Linked DNA regions of Homo sapiens: region 2 is linked to region 1. Evidence: promoter capture Hi-C in human tissues and cell types (Jung and others, 2019). All regions are on one chromosome and are shown on one strand. The core of a region is centred on a gene start or on the middle of the fragment in contact, and the rest is flanking DNA. Distances in the headings are between cores, read along the strand shown. Region 1 holds the start of MAT1A (methionine adenosyltransferase 1A). Region 2 has its middle 33 kb from the start of DYDC1.

Region 1 (7,315 bases), core at 2,422-4,921:
ATCTGAATCAATTTCATCTTTCTTTCATAAGTAACTTATTCATGCTCCAGAGTGGCATCTACAGGAAAAGTTTGTGCTTAAATTAATGAGGCAAAAGCAGTATATCCACTTGAAAATATTTCATTATTTAGCCGTTTAAGTCAGAGGAGCTTCTAGCCAAAGTTTAGAAATGTTTGCACTTAGACAACACCTGCACCCCCCACCTCTGCACCTAGGGTCCTCCCTGTGGCCTCCCCATCAGGCATGGCAGTGCAGAGCCAGCAAAGGGTACCATCTGGCAGGGCCTCCCCACCACCCCTGCGGCCCCGTGGTGCTGCCTAGGGTCAGGTGCCCTCGAAGCTCCATCACTAAACTGCTCAGTGGGACTTACAGGCACTGCTTATTGGAAACAGTCTTCCACTGGATGTTTTATATTCAGAGATTCATCGGGGTAAATCTGACTGAAAGAGAGATTTATTTTGAAAGCCAAGTTTCTCCAGAGGCTTGTCAGTGAAGCTTCAGAGTTCAAGGCTGCTGCATGTCAGTGAGATCAACTGTGTGCCTTTGACACATTGGACTTAGGTAATCAGTCCAGTGTGGAGTTTGGGGCTTGGAGTGGCCATTGGGACAATTCAAGCATAAGAGAGATGGGAACAGGCTGTGCGTAAGGGAGGACTTAATTTGTGTTTATGATGGTAAATTAGGGCCATGAAGTCCTTGTAGGTTCAACTCTCAAAGTAATTACATCTTTGCTAAGATCTGCCAATTCTTTCTGAAGGGGGTAGATTGAAACTACAATTTTAACTCTTGGTTGAATTGCTACTTCTTTTATCAGGTAAAATTCATTGCAAAAGTGAAATCTTTTGGCTAGTTCTGCACTGCCAGAGCCTTCCATTATTATCTTTTTCAGAAACATACTGATGAATAAGGACCTTCACTGCAGCATTATAGTGATGTGAAATAACTGGAGAAGTTGAAAATATTTAACCACTGAGGAATGAATGGTTTAATAATTTATGGTACATCCTTATTGTGGGATACTATTCAAGTATTAAAAAATAAGGCCTGCTGGGTGCAGTGGTTCACGCCTGTAATCCCAGCACTTTGGGAAGCTGAGGCAGGCGGATCACGAGGTCAGGAGTTCGAGACCAGCCTGACCAACATGGTGAAACCCTGTCTCTACTAAAAATACAAAAATTAGCTGAGTGTGGTGGCGTGCACCTCTAATCCCAGCTACTCAGGAGGCCGAGGCAGGAGAATCACTTGAACCCGGGAGGCGGAGGTTGCAGTGAGCTGAGATCATGCCATTGCACTCCAGCCTGGGTGACAGAGTGAGACTTCATCCCCCCCCAATAAAAAAACATAAGGCCTATCTGTATTTAGAGATGTGAACAGAGGGCCACGATATATTGTGGGGGGAAAAAAGCGAGATGCAAAATTATATGTGTATATGTGTATATTCACATATACATACATATGTATACATACCATAATCTATTTTTGTTCAGAGGAAAATCATATGTATGTAAATAGACTGCTTAATAATATTAGCTGATATTTATTAAATTTGTATTGTGTGCTAGCACTTTGTCCAATACTCATCATACCTAAATGACCTCATTTAGTTCTCAAAATAACACTAGGAGGTAGGTAATTATTTAACCCGCTTTACAGCAGAAGAAACAACAGATTAGAAAGGTTAGGAAGCCTTCTCCATGCTGCATGGGAGGTTACAGGCAAAAGTTGGACCCTAGTCCAGAAGCCTGCACTTCCATCCACCATGCTCCGTGTACTGCTTCTTAACATTTACTTGCTAGAAGAATATAAGGCATCCTAGTATTTAGTTGGGGTCTTAAATGAAACTCATACTTGAGATGAGTTTTTAACGAGGTGCCTCTCAGATCCCTCCCTCACACCCTCAATTGGCATCCAGGCTGCCAAAGCCCCCTGCACACATATCTGTGTAACAGATCGTCTCCCCACCCTGACGCCTTCCACCCCATGGTGCTGTTACTTATGGAATTCAGAAGGCAGCTACTGCTTTGTTTTCTGTCTTCCTGATAACTCTAGGAACCTTGAAGAGTACCTGCTACTTACACATCATCTTGTTCTTAAATCAAATTTGGACCATAATTGTTATCATACAATTTTAACTGCTAAGGTCACCTAGTTCTACAGTTCAAATTAAACATTAGCTCATATTGCCTCTAGGTTTAAAACTAATGTACCCAGAAGAAATTTACTAAGGGCCAGCAATGTTGAAATAGCTTAAGTGCAAACAGAGGAGTCCTGTGTGCTGGCAATGACAAGGCGATGTTGTCTAAAGTCCCTATTTGATTCCTCGTTTGTCCATCCCTTCCCAGTGGCCTTTTCCTCTCTGAACTTTCAACAGTCTTGTGCCTAAGCACTTCAGTTCACTCCTTGTTAAATGCCGTTGATTGGCTATGCATATGTAACATCCCTTACTTTATTCCAGAAGAGGTCACCTTAATACTGCTTTAATTCCCTGAAGGGATGATGTTTGGTCATCAGTTAGCAAAACTCAAGCTTTGGAGCACCAGAATGTGTGCCAGAAAAAATTTTTCCAAATGCTTGATAATAAACTCAGAGGGGGGTTTGGTCACCAGAATTGTTAGGTGAGGCTATTGCTTCCTAACTTTTGCTTCCCACAGTCCAAGCTTTGATGCACAAGGTTATGGTTGATTACTTTTTATTGCATTCTAGTGGGAACTGGTTTCTCCACCCATCCTCATTTTCTGTGGTCTCAATTCCCCATTGTTCCTTGGGTCTGAGGATGCAGCTGGATCTGAGAGTGTGAGACGCTGTCATTTAGTACATGAACTAAAGATATAATCCTGTTTACTACTTTTTTTGGTCAAAGCAAAAAATAATGCAAGAGTTATGTGAACACGATGTTTATTACATGTATAGAACTGAATATGTAGATGTTTATAATCCGGAAGCTTTGGGAAACTGGACTTTGATAATTTCCCTGTAATGAATCCATTTCTCAAAAGCATTTTTTTCTAAAAAAAACACACACACACACACACACACACACACATTGTTCTCTGTAACCTCCCCAGATAGATACTTTTTAAAGATCTTGCTTGTTAAAATGCCTGCCAGCCTTTTAGAGAAGTTGACAGGTTAGGTGGTTTCTGTTAGCAGAAACACGTGGACTCAAAGCTTTTCCTCTAAAATGAATCTGTTGTGTAACATCACAGCTGGCTCAGAATACAGGTGCGTGCTCCTGCTCTCCCTGAGAAGATAGAATGGGAAGAGACCAATCCAGATGAGACGCAGGGGAGGAGGGGACACCCAACAGCAAAGGCACTGTTGCAATCTTAGCCTAAACCATATCTCTGAGAAAGAGTTTCTTGTTGCCTGCTTGTATCTCTGGGTGATCACAGACCCCTGCTCTCCAAGGTGGGTTGTGAACTCTGGAGCACTACCAAGATTGGCTAAGAGCTGAAGGAGAGTCCCAAAGGAGCTTCAATTCTGCAGAACTATACAGCCTTCTTTACCTTACCTTGACCAGGTGCTTAGAGTTTGGAAAGTCAGGGATAAGAATTGAAATTCCTCCAGGTAAGAAGACCCCCCTCTTAGGAAATGGACTCCTCCAATTTTCTCACATGATTTTTCAGGCACTTTCGCTTTTCCATATATAGGAGTCGCTCAGGAGCAAGCTGTGGCAAGCTGGAGGGAGGGACACATCCCGTGTTCCATCCACTCCCTCCCTTCTCAGCAGTCCTCGCCTGTTCTCACGTGCTCACAGGCAGTTAGGCAGAAGTGATCCCCGTGGCTCTGCCAAAGACAAGCCTGTTGGGTTGAAAGAAGAAGAAGAAGAAGAAAAAAAAACTCAGGCAAAGTCACAGCCTCAAAATTGTTCACTGAAAGAAGCGTGAGTGGAGAAGTGTGAGAAGATGAATGGACCGGTGGATGGCTTGTGTGACCACTCTCTAAGTGAAGGAGTCTTCATGTTCACATCGGAGTCTGTGGGAGAGGGACACCCGGGTAAGTAGGCTGTCTTGGACTGACTGGAAAACGATCATTCCAAGCCTATACTGAGGGAGTCACTTACAAATGGTTTTAATTTGACACATAATAATTGTGCATATTTATGGGGTACCGTGTGTTGTTTTGATCCATGAGTATAACATTTAATGATCAAATTAGGATAATGGGCATACCCATTGCCACAGACATTGACTACTTCTTTGTGGTGAAAACATTCAAAATTCCCTCTTCTAGCCCTTCAGTCACCCTACTGCGCAATGGAATGCCAGAGCTCATTCCTCCTATCTGACTGTAACTTCGTACCTGTAGGAGTCACTTTTACCAGAGCTCTTCAGAGCAATGTGTGTGAGTTACCAGAAGGGATCTCTAGAGAAACAGCATGGAGTAGTTTCATAAAACAGTCCCTCCTGATGAAGCCGTGCTGTGGCCCACCACCAGCACGCCAGCACAGTGGGTCCAAGACAGGGAGTAGCAGCTGGCTGGCTAAGAGTATGACACATGCAAAATATATGATCAGGTCTTAACTTTTTATATGTATTTTTTTTTTAGGAAAGCTTTAATCTATTATCCATGGCCAATTTAAGTCAACAGGGAATGTTCCTGAAACAAGACCATGGGTGACTAAATTTTGCATGTGAAGCATGTGCAACTTAGGCATGAAAGCCTGCACCCTGGTCACTGCTGGGGTAGACCTCTAGGTGCTGGGGACTCAGTAACGTTCTCTAAGAGCAGAATAGAAGACCTTCTAAACAGGAAGAAAATTTAGGCATTGATTTTGGTCCCTGAAAAGTAGGTAGACTGTGATGTGCGGAAGTGAGAGAAGCTTCCTTGATGACGGTGAGAACTAGGACCAGGACATTCAGAGCCTCAAGTGTAGGACAGTGGTTCTCAAACTTCAGGGAGCTTCAGAATCCCCCAGAGGGCTTGTCAAGACAACAGAGGGCTGGGCCCCACCCTCCAGAGTTTCTGATTCAGTAGGTCTTGGGAGAGGCTCGAGAATTTGCATTTTTGACAAGTTCCCAGGAGATGCTGATGCTCTGGGGTGAGAACCACTGCTCTTGGAGACCCCTGGGGGATAGATGTACAGACTTCTATAGTTAAGTCCCTCTTCAAAATTCATTCGAGTGTTTGCTAACTTATTGCCAAGTCTGCCTTTTTCCATCTTCCTTGCTCTTGTTCTTCCTCAAAGATATTTATCTTTCCTACCTTGTAACTTGGCTTTGGACACCTCAGTGCACTACTCCTTCCATATACTTTAGCCAGTGGTTTTTGACTGGTGGCAGTTTTGCCCCACAACCCCCAAGAGCATTTTGTACTGTCTGGAGACATTTGCAGTTATCACAACTATAGGAGGTGGGGGTAAGGTGCTACTGCCATGTATTGAGTAGAGGTCAGGCACACTGCTAAGCATCCTACAGTGCACAGGACAGCCTCTCAAGAATTATCTGGCCCAAAATGTTAATAGTGCAGCTGTTGAAAAACCTTGAATTGAATTGAGTTTTTTATGTGACTTAGCTCAGTTCAATGTAAATAGCCTCTTTCATTGTGCATAACTGTATAAAGTATCTAGGTTTACTGTATTTTCAATCTCAGATACATTGCTGATTTCTGACACATTCTGATCAGCTCCATGGCTATGAGCCTCATGTATAGGTTAGGAGAAAGATTCACTCCACCCGGAGGAAGTGGGTTTTTTGGCATGCAGCGGCTAGTGGTCCCAAGAATGGTCCATTGTGCGCAGCAGCAATGTGCTCAGAGGACTGAGAATGAACGTGCCAGCCAATCAATTGATTGTTTTGTATACTTAATGACAGCCAATCAATTTGTCTAATCGTCCCTTGTACTTGCCATTGTAATTGTCCAGGTAAGTCAGTTTCCATGGAGGCTAGGTGACTTTCTGCTTGTCATTCCATTGCTGAATTCCTCTCTGCTAGAAAGATAAAGGTTTTCTTCTCTGGTTTTCCAAAAAAACAACTATTGGCTATCTTAAGCCTACTAAGTGATATTGATAAAAATTTTGAAAGCCAAAACAAAAACAAAAACAATTCAGAAACAACCTCCTTGGGCATTGTCTTGTGTGTGGTGCTATCTGGAAGCCCCTGCTGGACTCCAGCTTTGTTCCTTCTCCTGTTGGATTTCCCTAGGCAGAGTGGGAGCCTGTGAGCTGTGTCTGCACAGGCAGAGACATTCACAATCAATGATCAGTCAGCAAGCTTCTAGGAACTCTGATGGGTAAGCCTAAGGTGGCCAGCATGTATTTATTTTAGGATATTTTATCAGCGAGAGGCCTTCAGTGGTAGAAGTGTGTAGAGGCTAAGGGCTCAGACAAACCTAAAGGTACTACCAGGGTCTGCCACTGGCAGGAGGCTAGATTAAACAAACAAACAAACAAACAAAACACAACCTCAAACATATGTTTAGCAGTAGTTTCTAAAGGAAAGATTAAGGAATTAATGAATATCTTTAATTACAGAATTTAACATCTGCTTTTGAGAGCCAAACTGCTTGATTCTGGATCTGGATTCTTAACAAAAACATATTACTCTATTAAGAGCAGACTGTGGGTATTTTTAACACTGAATGAGCTATAATATATGTAGATAGAGATCACTTTTATTTCTTAATTTGTAGATATTGACAGTTTGCATAACCCCAAAGCAAGAGTAGATTTTCCTACAAGCACCATTTAGTGCTTTACATTTTAGACCCTGCAGAGTCTTTAAGGCAAATAGTGGAAGAATAAAATCAAATTCCAGCTCATGTTGAACCCTTGTCAGTCCTACAGTAATTGAAGAGGTCAAGCCCAGCTCTAAGGACACCTGGCTTTCGGGAGGCTGAGTGACCATGTGGGAGATCTGAGAGCTGCTTATGGAAGTATTCTGCAAAACAACAATGATGTATAGGGGTTATCTTGTAGAATTCTTATGGGTGGAGTCATGTACTTGGGTGTGGTGTTTTATATACGGTGCATTGCATCTTGTGGAACCTGCCATGCAATGCAGCTGTTTGAGCCGTCTGATTTTACCTCTTGGCAAAGAGGTAAAATTGACTTCTTAACTATTTTTAAGTTCATTTTCAGGACTTTTGTAGATGTTAGAATTAAAGGGAACATGATGAGGAATGAGAGATTTTTTATTTAGAAGAATGCGTGTGTGTTTGTTTATGTGTGAGTTGCGTTAGACTCCTAGAAGAGCTGATTTTGACCGGGCGCAGTGGCTAACACCTGTAATCCCAGCACTTTCAGAGGCTGAGGTGGGCGGATCACTTGAGACCAGGAGTTCAAGACCAGCCTGGCCAACATGGTGAAACGCCATCT
Region 2 (7,315 bases), core at 1,816-4,315, 35 kb before region 1:
CATCTGCTGACAATGGGAATAGAGATGGGAATTATACAGTGAAAATCCCTTTGGGGAGTGGTGGATGAGAAAGTGGTGTTATGTTACAGAGATGTTTTAAGATGCTTCATTGGTGGTACTTAGGATTTTTTAGGATAAGGTTGCTGTTAAGATAGTCTAGGCTTAAGGTAATGAAGGTGGTACCTAGGTTGTAGCAGTGGAAATTAATTTAGTGAACACTTACAGTGTGCCTACTATGTATCAAGCATTGTACTGGGTTCTCATGGGAAGCATATACGCAAAACATGGTCTCTGCTCGCACATCATTCACAATTTGTAGGACCTCTACAGGAAACAAGTGATGGGTGTGACGCTTTTCATAGGTGGGCTTGGGAGTTGATCGAATGGGGGTGGAGGACAAGGAAGGACAAGGAAGAACCTGAATCTTGAACAATGGTGGGTCCTTGAGCGCTCAGGTCAGGCAGAGGTGCCGGTCTGGCTTCGAGGGACACTTGCCTGGCTGGTGTCTAACATGGTGTAAAGGAGACACTAAGAACTTCCTTCATGGCTCTCTCACTGAGCCAGGGAGGGGGATGGCAGGGGTGCCACCTGTTTTGGGGACACTAGAATTAACATAATTGACACATATTTCAGGAAGCCATCAGCTGAGCCACAGAAATAACGTATACAAGATAATAATAACCTTGCTCAGGAATAGGGCCGGGCGCAGTGGCTCACACCTGTAATCCCAGCACTTTGGGAGGCCGAGGCAGGCGGATCACGAGGTCAGGAGATCAAGACTATCCTGGCTAACATGGTGAAACCCCGTCTCTACTAAAAATACAAAAAATTAGCTGGGCATGGTGGCGGGCACCTGTAGTCCCAGCTACTCGGGAGGCTGAGGCAGGAGAATGGTGTGAACCCAGAAGGCGGAGCTTGCAGTGAGCCGAGATTGCGCCACTGCACTCCAGCCTGGGTGACAGAGCAAGACTCCGTGTCAAAAAAAAAAAAAAAAAAAAAAAATATATATATATATATATATATATATATATATATTCAGGAATAGAACACTGAAAACAGCAAATAAATGTACAAGCTTTTGAAAATTGAATTAATTTTTGTGAAAGTCAAATTAAACCAACTGTTCTGAGATCAATACTACATTGAATCAAGCTTATTTATAATTGTATATTAAATTGTAACTATGTTACCACTAGATGTCACAAAGATTCAATTTTAAAAGCCTTTTGAGGTAGTCATTTTGAAATATATTTTTCTTAAACAGAAATAAGCCTTTCTAGTATTTGCAAATATAAGGAATAACTTTTAAATTTTTAAATTGTAAAATAGTCCAAATATGCAGAAGAGTACACAGAATAATATAAGCAATGTCTTTTATCCCAATCCAGAATTAACAAATATTACCATTTTACCATATATTGGCGGCTTTTTTAAAAAACAAAATCTTACAGTTGATGTTTTTGTACCCCTCCTTCATGCCATTCCTCTTATTTCTTGCCCACATATAACCATTATCTTAAAATCAGTGGATGTAATTCCCACTTATACATATTTGATGTCTTAATACAAATGTATATTTATCCATAAATAAGACAGTTTTTTGGGTGAGATTTTAACTTAATGCTTTTTTCACTCAGCATTATATTTTCAAGATTTATTCCTGCTGATACATTTATATCTACTTCATTTATTTTAACTGCTGTGTAACATAACCATTGCACCAGTTCTTCTATTGGTGGGTGTTTGGAGTGTTTTAAATGCTTTACTTTTATACATATACCTATGTATGTATCTCTGTGTATTTGAGGGAATCCCATTGTTTGCACATTTTCTCTTGACTCGCAAGTGACACTGTACTAGTAAAGAAGGTCTGTCAGACTCTCCTCCTTAAAAAATGTATCAAGGACCACATTCCTAGTACCCTTCTGACACAATCTCCTGTTGGAAGATGGGAGAACTAATGTGTGAAGTTTCTCTCTTGGTTCTGAAACTTGAGCATGTACCTAAATCTGCTGGAGGGCTTCTTAAAAGGCACTCCCAGGTAAGTCTTTAAGTCTGGGATAGGCTGGAGAATTTGCATTTCTAACAAGCACCCAGATGCTGCTGCTACTGCTGGTCAGCAATCTCACTTAAGAAAATGCTACTCTTGGCTGGGTATACAAGGCACACTTGTGCGATTCCCGGGGCTCAGGTTGTGGCCATTCTCAAGCTACTAGATATTGCTAGATTGTGTTCCAAAGTGGTCATGTTCGTTTACACTCCTACCCGGAGGACAGAGTTCCTGTTATGTCAAATCCTTTCAGATACTTGGTAATCTTACACGTCAACATTTTTTACCCATGGCGGGAGTGCAATGTGGTAGCTTTTTTGTTGTTTAATTAGCATTTCTCTGATTATTAGTGAGGTTACATATCTTTTTATGTTTATTGGACAATGGATTTGCTCTTCTGGGAATTGCATGTTCATATTATTTGCTAATACTTGCTATTGATTTGTTTATCTGACTGAATTTCTTTGCTGGTTATATGTGTTGGGAAATCTCTCAGGTCGTTGGTTGCCTTTTAACTTGGTTTATGGTCTTTATTGTTTGGCAAAAGTAAGGTTTATTTACATGTCTCTTTTTTAATATTTTGTGCTTTTTGATCTTTTGTTTAATAAAGTAATGAACCATTATTAGTTCTGAAAAACTTATGTAGTTTAAGGATTATCTTTAAAAATTATTTCATGTATTTTCGTTTAGATTTTTCAATTAAATTGTCTTCAAGTACAGTCAATAATCAAATTGACAATTTCAAAATCAGGGAAAGCACTCTCTTACCAGTTTTAATGAATAATAAGCATTCTAGCTCATTGCATGTACATTGGTGATATTGCTGAAATGAAATTTTAAGTGCTAAAAACGAGCCTGTCACAGTTTAAACATCTCAACTTACCTACACCCTTGCCATTATTTTTGTTTCTTCAATTTGGGGATTAAACTCTTCAAGGAGAAAGGGAAGCAGCTTTTGAATCAGAGGACTCTAAAGTATAAGTTAGTAGAGGAGAATTTTCCAGGTGGGGGGTGTGCAGTGAGTGACTTCCAGTGTAGCTAAGGCTGATGGTGGTTGGCAGATGGGATTTTATGACTCACAGGAAATGCTTATATGCCCCAGAGTGTCTCCCATGTGGCCGCACTGGCTGGAGGGACACCAACTAGATATTTATTTGTGTCAGTACTATTTTGAAATTTAGTTACCTCTGATGTTATGGTTCATTCATTAAAGAAAGAAAACACCTACTATGTGCCAGTCCTGGTACACAAGATACTTTATTTCAACTTCTTATATAGGATAGATAACAGCTTAAATTTTTACAGGCAGAAATGGAATTTCAGAGAGTTATTTAAGCTTCTGAGATTCTCACAGCTGATCGTTGAGCGAATGGAGATACAAACCCAAATTTTTTTGACTTTAAAACTTTCTCATCATTTCTTAGTAACATTCCATCAGAACCCACTGTGTTCGTAGGCACTTAGCTATTCATACTTTAGTGTAAAGTAGCCAAGCTATTTTACTAAACCATAAAACCAAGCTGGATTGGATATACTAGGGGAATGGATGAGCAGGTGGGCTGGTGCTGAAGGGTTTGAATGTGGCCATAATACCTTCTGAGAGCCTAAAGAACCAGTAGCCAAGGATGGATGGTGTGACAGAGAGGATGGATTTCAGTTGCTCTGTCCTTTTTTATAGGGTATTGCTTCTCATATTGTAATTTCTTATAAATTCCTGGAGCTTTTTCTTAAACTGTAGATTCTAATTTCCAAGCCTAAGGTGGGGCCCCAGAGCCTGCATTCCTAACAAGCTCCCAGGTGATGCTGAGGCTGCTAGTCAAGGAACCACACTGAATAACAAGGGCCTGGGGTATACTCAGAAGAGGAGAGGAGAGGAAACGTGTTTGATCGGCCCTGGGGTTGCTGGAGGAGGTTAGGGCAGAGCAGCAGTTCTAAGGAAGGTAGTAGAGGGCTGCTTTGCGTGGGGAGGTGGGTGGTGGCACAATGCCTCTGGCCCATGCTGCAGGTTCTGAGCCTTTATGATGTCTGATGATTCACTGCACTCAGTACTTCAGTACAAGTGATTCTTGTGAGAGCAGATAATACTGAGCAGTGGAATTAGAGATGTGTGTTTGCTTCATTGTTCAAGGATTCTTTGGGTATAGCTTTGGAACAGTCAGTGTTAAGCTTTCTGCAAATGAGGGTGTAAAAGGCTTTTTTCTAAGCTATGGCGCAGAAGGCATTAGAGTAGCTGGCAGCAGATAAATAAGCAGCCACAATTTGTAGGTAATTACTTATCTTGAATTGGTAAAAATTAAAATAACTTTAGTAGGCAGTTCAGCGTAGGAAAAGGGGACTACTTGGAGTCAGAAGGGCTGAGTTTAGGTGTTGTGCCACTTACCAGTTGTACAAGCCAAAATAAATCACCTAATCTCTTTGGGCCTCAGCTTCCTCCTCTGTTAAATGAGGTCAGCACTCCCCACATCAGAGTCATTGTGACACTCAAATGAGCTGACACCTGTAAGAATGCTTTGTAAACTGCAAGACTCTCCCAGAAAACTGGTCTCAGGGAAAGAGTAGGGATGGAGAGGCTGCCTTCCACATAAAGGTTTTTAAAATCTGCTGTCAAATCCCCAGATGAAATAATTAGGTAGACATTTGAGAACATGAAACACTTGTGACCAAATCGTATGTATTTTCAGAATGAAAGCTTGTGTGAGAGGATCAGTTTGGCCTAAGTTATCTAAGTAATAGTTTCTCCTTTCACTTAAAATACTCAGACTCAAAGTGTACTAATCATTTATATAAAAATATTTTTTAGAGCAAATAAGGGAAAGACAAAAATATCAAGAGAAAACTAAAGCCAGAGTACTTCATGGCTGAATTTTCTTTCTCCACAATTTTCCCCTCAAATGCTCTAACTCCCTATTTCATTGTTTGGGATAGGAATTTGTATAGTGAAGACATTGTATTCTGGGAAAAAGGTGACTTGCTTGTGTCTCTCCCATAGCCTTTGGCTATATTGTGCAACCTTCAGTCAATTGTTTAACCCCACGAGGAAAGTGTGGACTGAGAGCCTGTAAATATCCCAGATTTACCACCCAAGGTGTTGAGTTTAGGGTGAGTTGACTTAGAGCGAAGGAGGTGATATTTTAAATTTCTACACATTTAAACATTTCAGATGACACAATCTTCAGTTTTTAAAAATAAAAGGGATTTACACTGACTGGCTATGGCCATTTTGTTTTTATTTCAAAATGGAAGCTTTGTGTGTACACGTAGGTGTTTCGGGATGCTGACAGATGTCAAATAGAAATTTAAGTACATTATAGCAGTGTTCTATGTAAAGAGCTTTTAGGATTGAGACAGGGTGATAGCTAATTCTCTGAAATGTAGAAACCATGTATATCATATTTAATACATTAATACATTGATGGTTATGAATTGATTCATGGATTTGGCTCAATATATTTTTTCTTTTTTTTTTCTTATTTTTGAGATGGAGTCTCACTCTGTTGCCCATGCTGGAGTGCAGTAGCATGATCTTGGCTCACTGCAACCTCCGCCTGCTGGGTTCAAGCAGCCCGGAGTAGCTGGGACTACAGGAGCACACCACCATGCTGAGCTAAGTTTTGTATTTTTAATAGAGATGGGGTTTCACCATATTGGTCATGCTGGTCTCAAACTCCTGACCTCAGGTGATCCATCCACCTCGACCTCCCGAAGTGTTGGGATTACAGGTGTGAGCCACGGCGCCCAGCCTGTTTTCTGCTTTAAAAATATTAAAAGTTATTCTCCAGCAGAGCTATGATTGGCTGGGCAGAGAATTCTGGAGAGGCACGCATAATTCATAGACTCTATCTATCAACAATTATGCTTGTATAATCCTCTTTCTTCCCCTCTCCAAGGTTACCCTTGATTGGGAGATGAACTGGCCAATAACACTCTGCTCTTCTATTCCACCCATTCCTGCTTTTTCCTCTGAAATTACTGGCTAATTCTAAACACACCCATGCTGGTTCCATTTTTACTTCAGCTGGATATTTATCTTGGTGAGTGTGTTTGCTTATGTAAAATGAGGACTGTTTACTTAATGATACCAACAACCTTCGGAATATTGCTTTTTAATATAGAATCATATGTTCTTAAAATTCCTTGTAGCCGGGAGCGGTGGCTCACGCCTGTAATCCCAGCACCTTGGGAGGCTGAGGCGGGAGGATCACGAGGTCAGAAGATCGAGACCATCCTGGCTAACACAGTGAAACCCCGTCTCTACTAAAAATACAAAAAAATTAGCTGGGCGTGGTGGCGGGTGCCTGTAGTCCCAGCTACTCGGGAGGCTGAGACAGGAGAATGGCCTGAACCTGGGAGGCGGAGCTTGCAGTGAGCTGAGATCACGCCACTGCACTCCAGCCTGGGCAACAAAGCGAGACTCCATCTCAAAAAAAAAAAAAAAAAAATTCCCTGTAGAAGTTGCTCTATTTATCAGAGTTTGGGATTATTTTTATATTTTATATCTATAAAAGAATGTTTACTTGAAATTTTTTGTAGATTATTACCTGTTGAGCAAGTTGTTGCCTCGGAAGAAGGCTGGGGAAATGCACATAGAAGGGAATACCAGTATTTGCATGTTAGGGACCTAGACTAGGTCACTGAGAGCACCCAAGTCCCTCTGGAGCATCAACATTTGCCTCTGGCAATGCCTGATGCATGCTGGGAACACACAATGTTTGTGTTTATTGTCTTTGTTACTCTACTACTCATCCTGCATATTTACCCAGGTCAGAAGTCATTCCTGAATCCTCCCACTCCTTTGCTTCCTACATCCAGTGATGTATCCAATTCTACTCCTCCTACTTTCTGACTCTGCCATGTAATCAATCTCCCTGCCTCTGGGACAGCCCTGTCTAGTCCAGTCTCCACACAATAGCAGCTAGCAGAGTGGTTTCTGTACAAGTCCCTATCTGACTATATGCCCCATCCAGGCACATCTTTTGCTTGAAACTCTTTATTGGCTTTTCTTTGTCCTCAGGATAAAGTGTAAACTTGGAGGACCCACAGAACTGTTCATGATCTGCCCTCTGCCACCATCTCAGTATCCTCCCCTTCTGTTTGTCAACCCACACTCTGTGCCCCAGCCTCACTGAACCACTTGAAATGTCATGAAGGTTTTATGCACTGTCTACCTCCTGAATCTTAGTCCATGTTGTTCCTGTTGCCTGCAATATTGTTTCCCAATCCACCTGGCACACATGTGGTTGGCCTACCCTAGTGTGGCATATAGTA

Evidence for each region. The method cuts DNA at HindIII sites, captures the fragments that hold promoters and counts their contacts. A contact is called where the count stands out against the background at its distance.
Region 2: a fragment that was not itself captured here is called in contact with the fragment with the promoter of MAT1A in region 1 in 3 of the 25 tissues and cell types used here (hippocampus, liver and pancreas).

What each region holds. Positions count from the first base shown.
Region 1 is chr10:80,286,014-80,293,328 of GRCh38, reverse strand. MAT1A (methionine adenosyltransferase 1A) reads left to right here and starts at 3,671. Exons shown (of 9, transcript NM_000429.3): 1 at 3,671-3,996. The coding sequence starts at 3,906. RefSeq lists an enhancer at 3,542-3,836. The HindIII fragment of the contact is 4,006 bases long and covers 1,512-5,517 here.
Region 2 is chr10:80,320,097-80,327,411 of GRCh38, reverse strand. No RefSeq gene overlaps it. Among named protein-coding and RNA genes, the nearest start is that of DYDC1, 33 kb to the left of the region's middle. The HindIII fragment of the contact is 3,902 bases long and covers 1,115-5,016 here.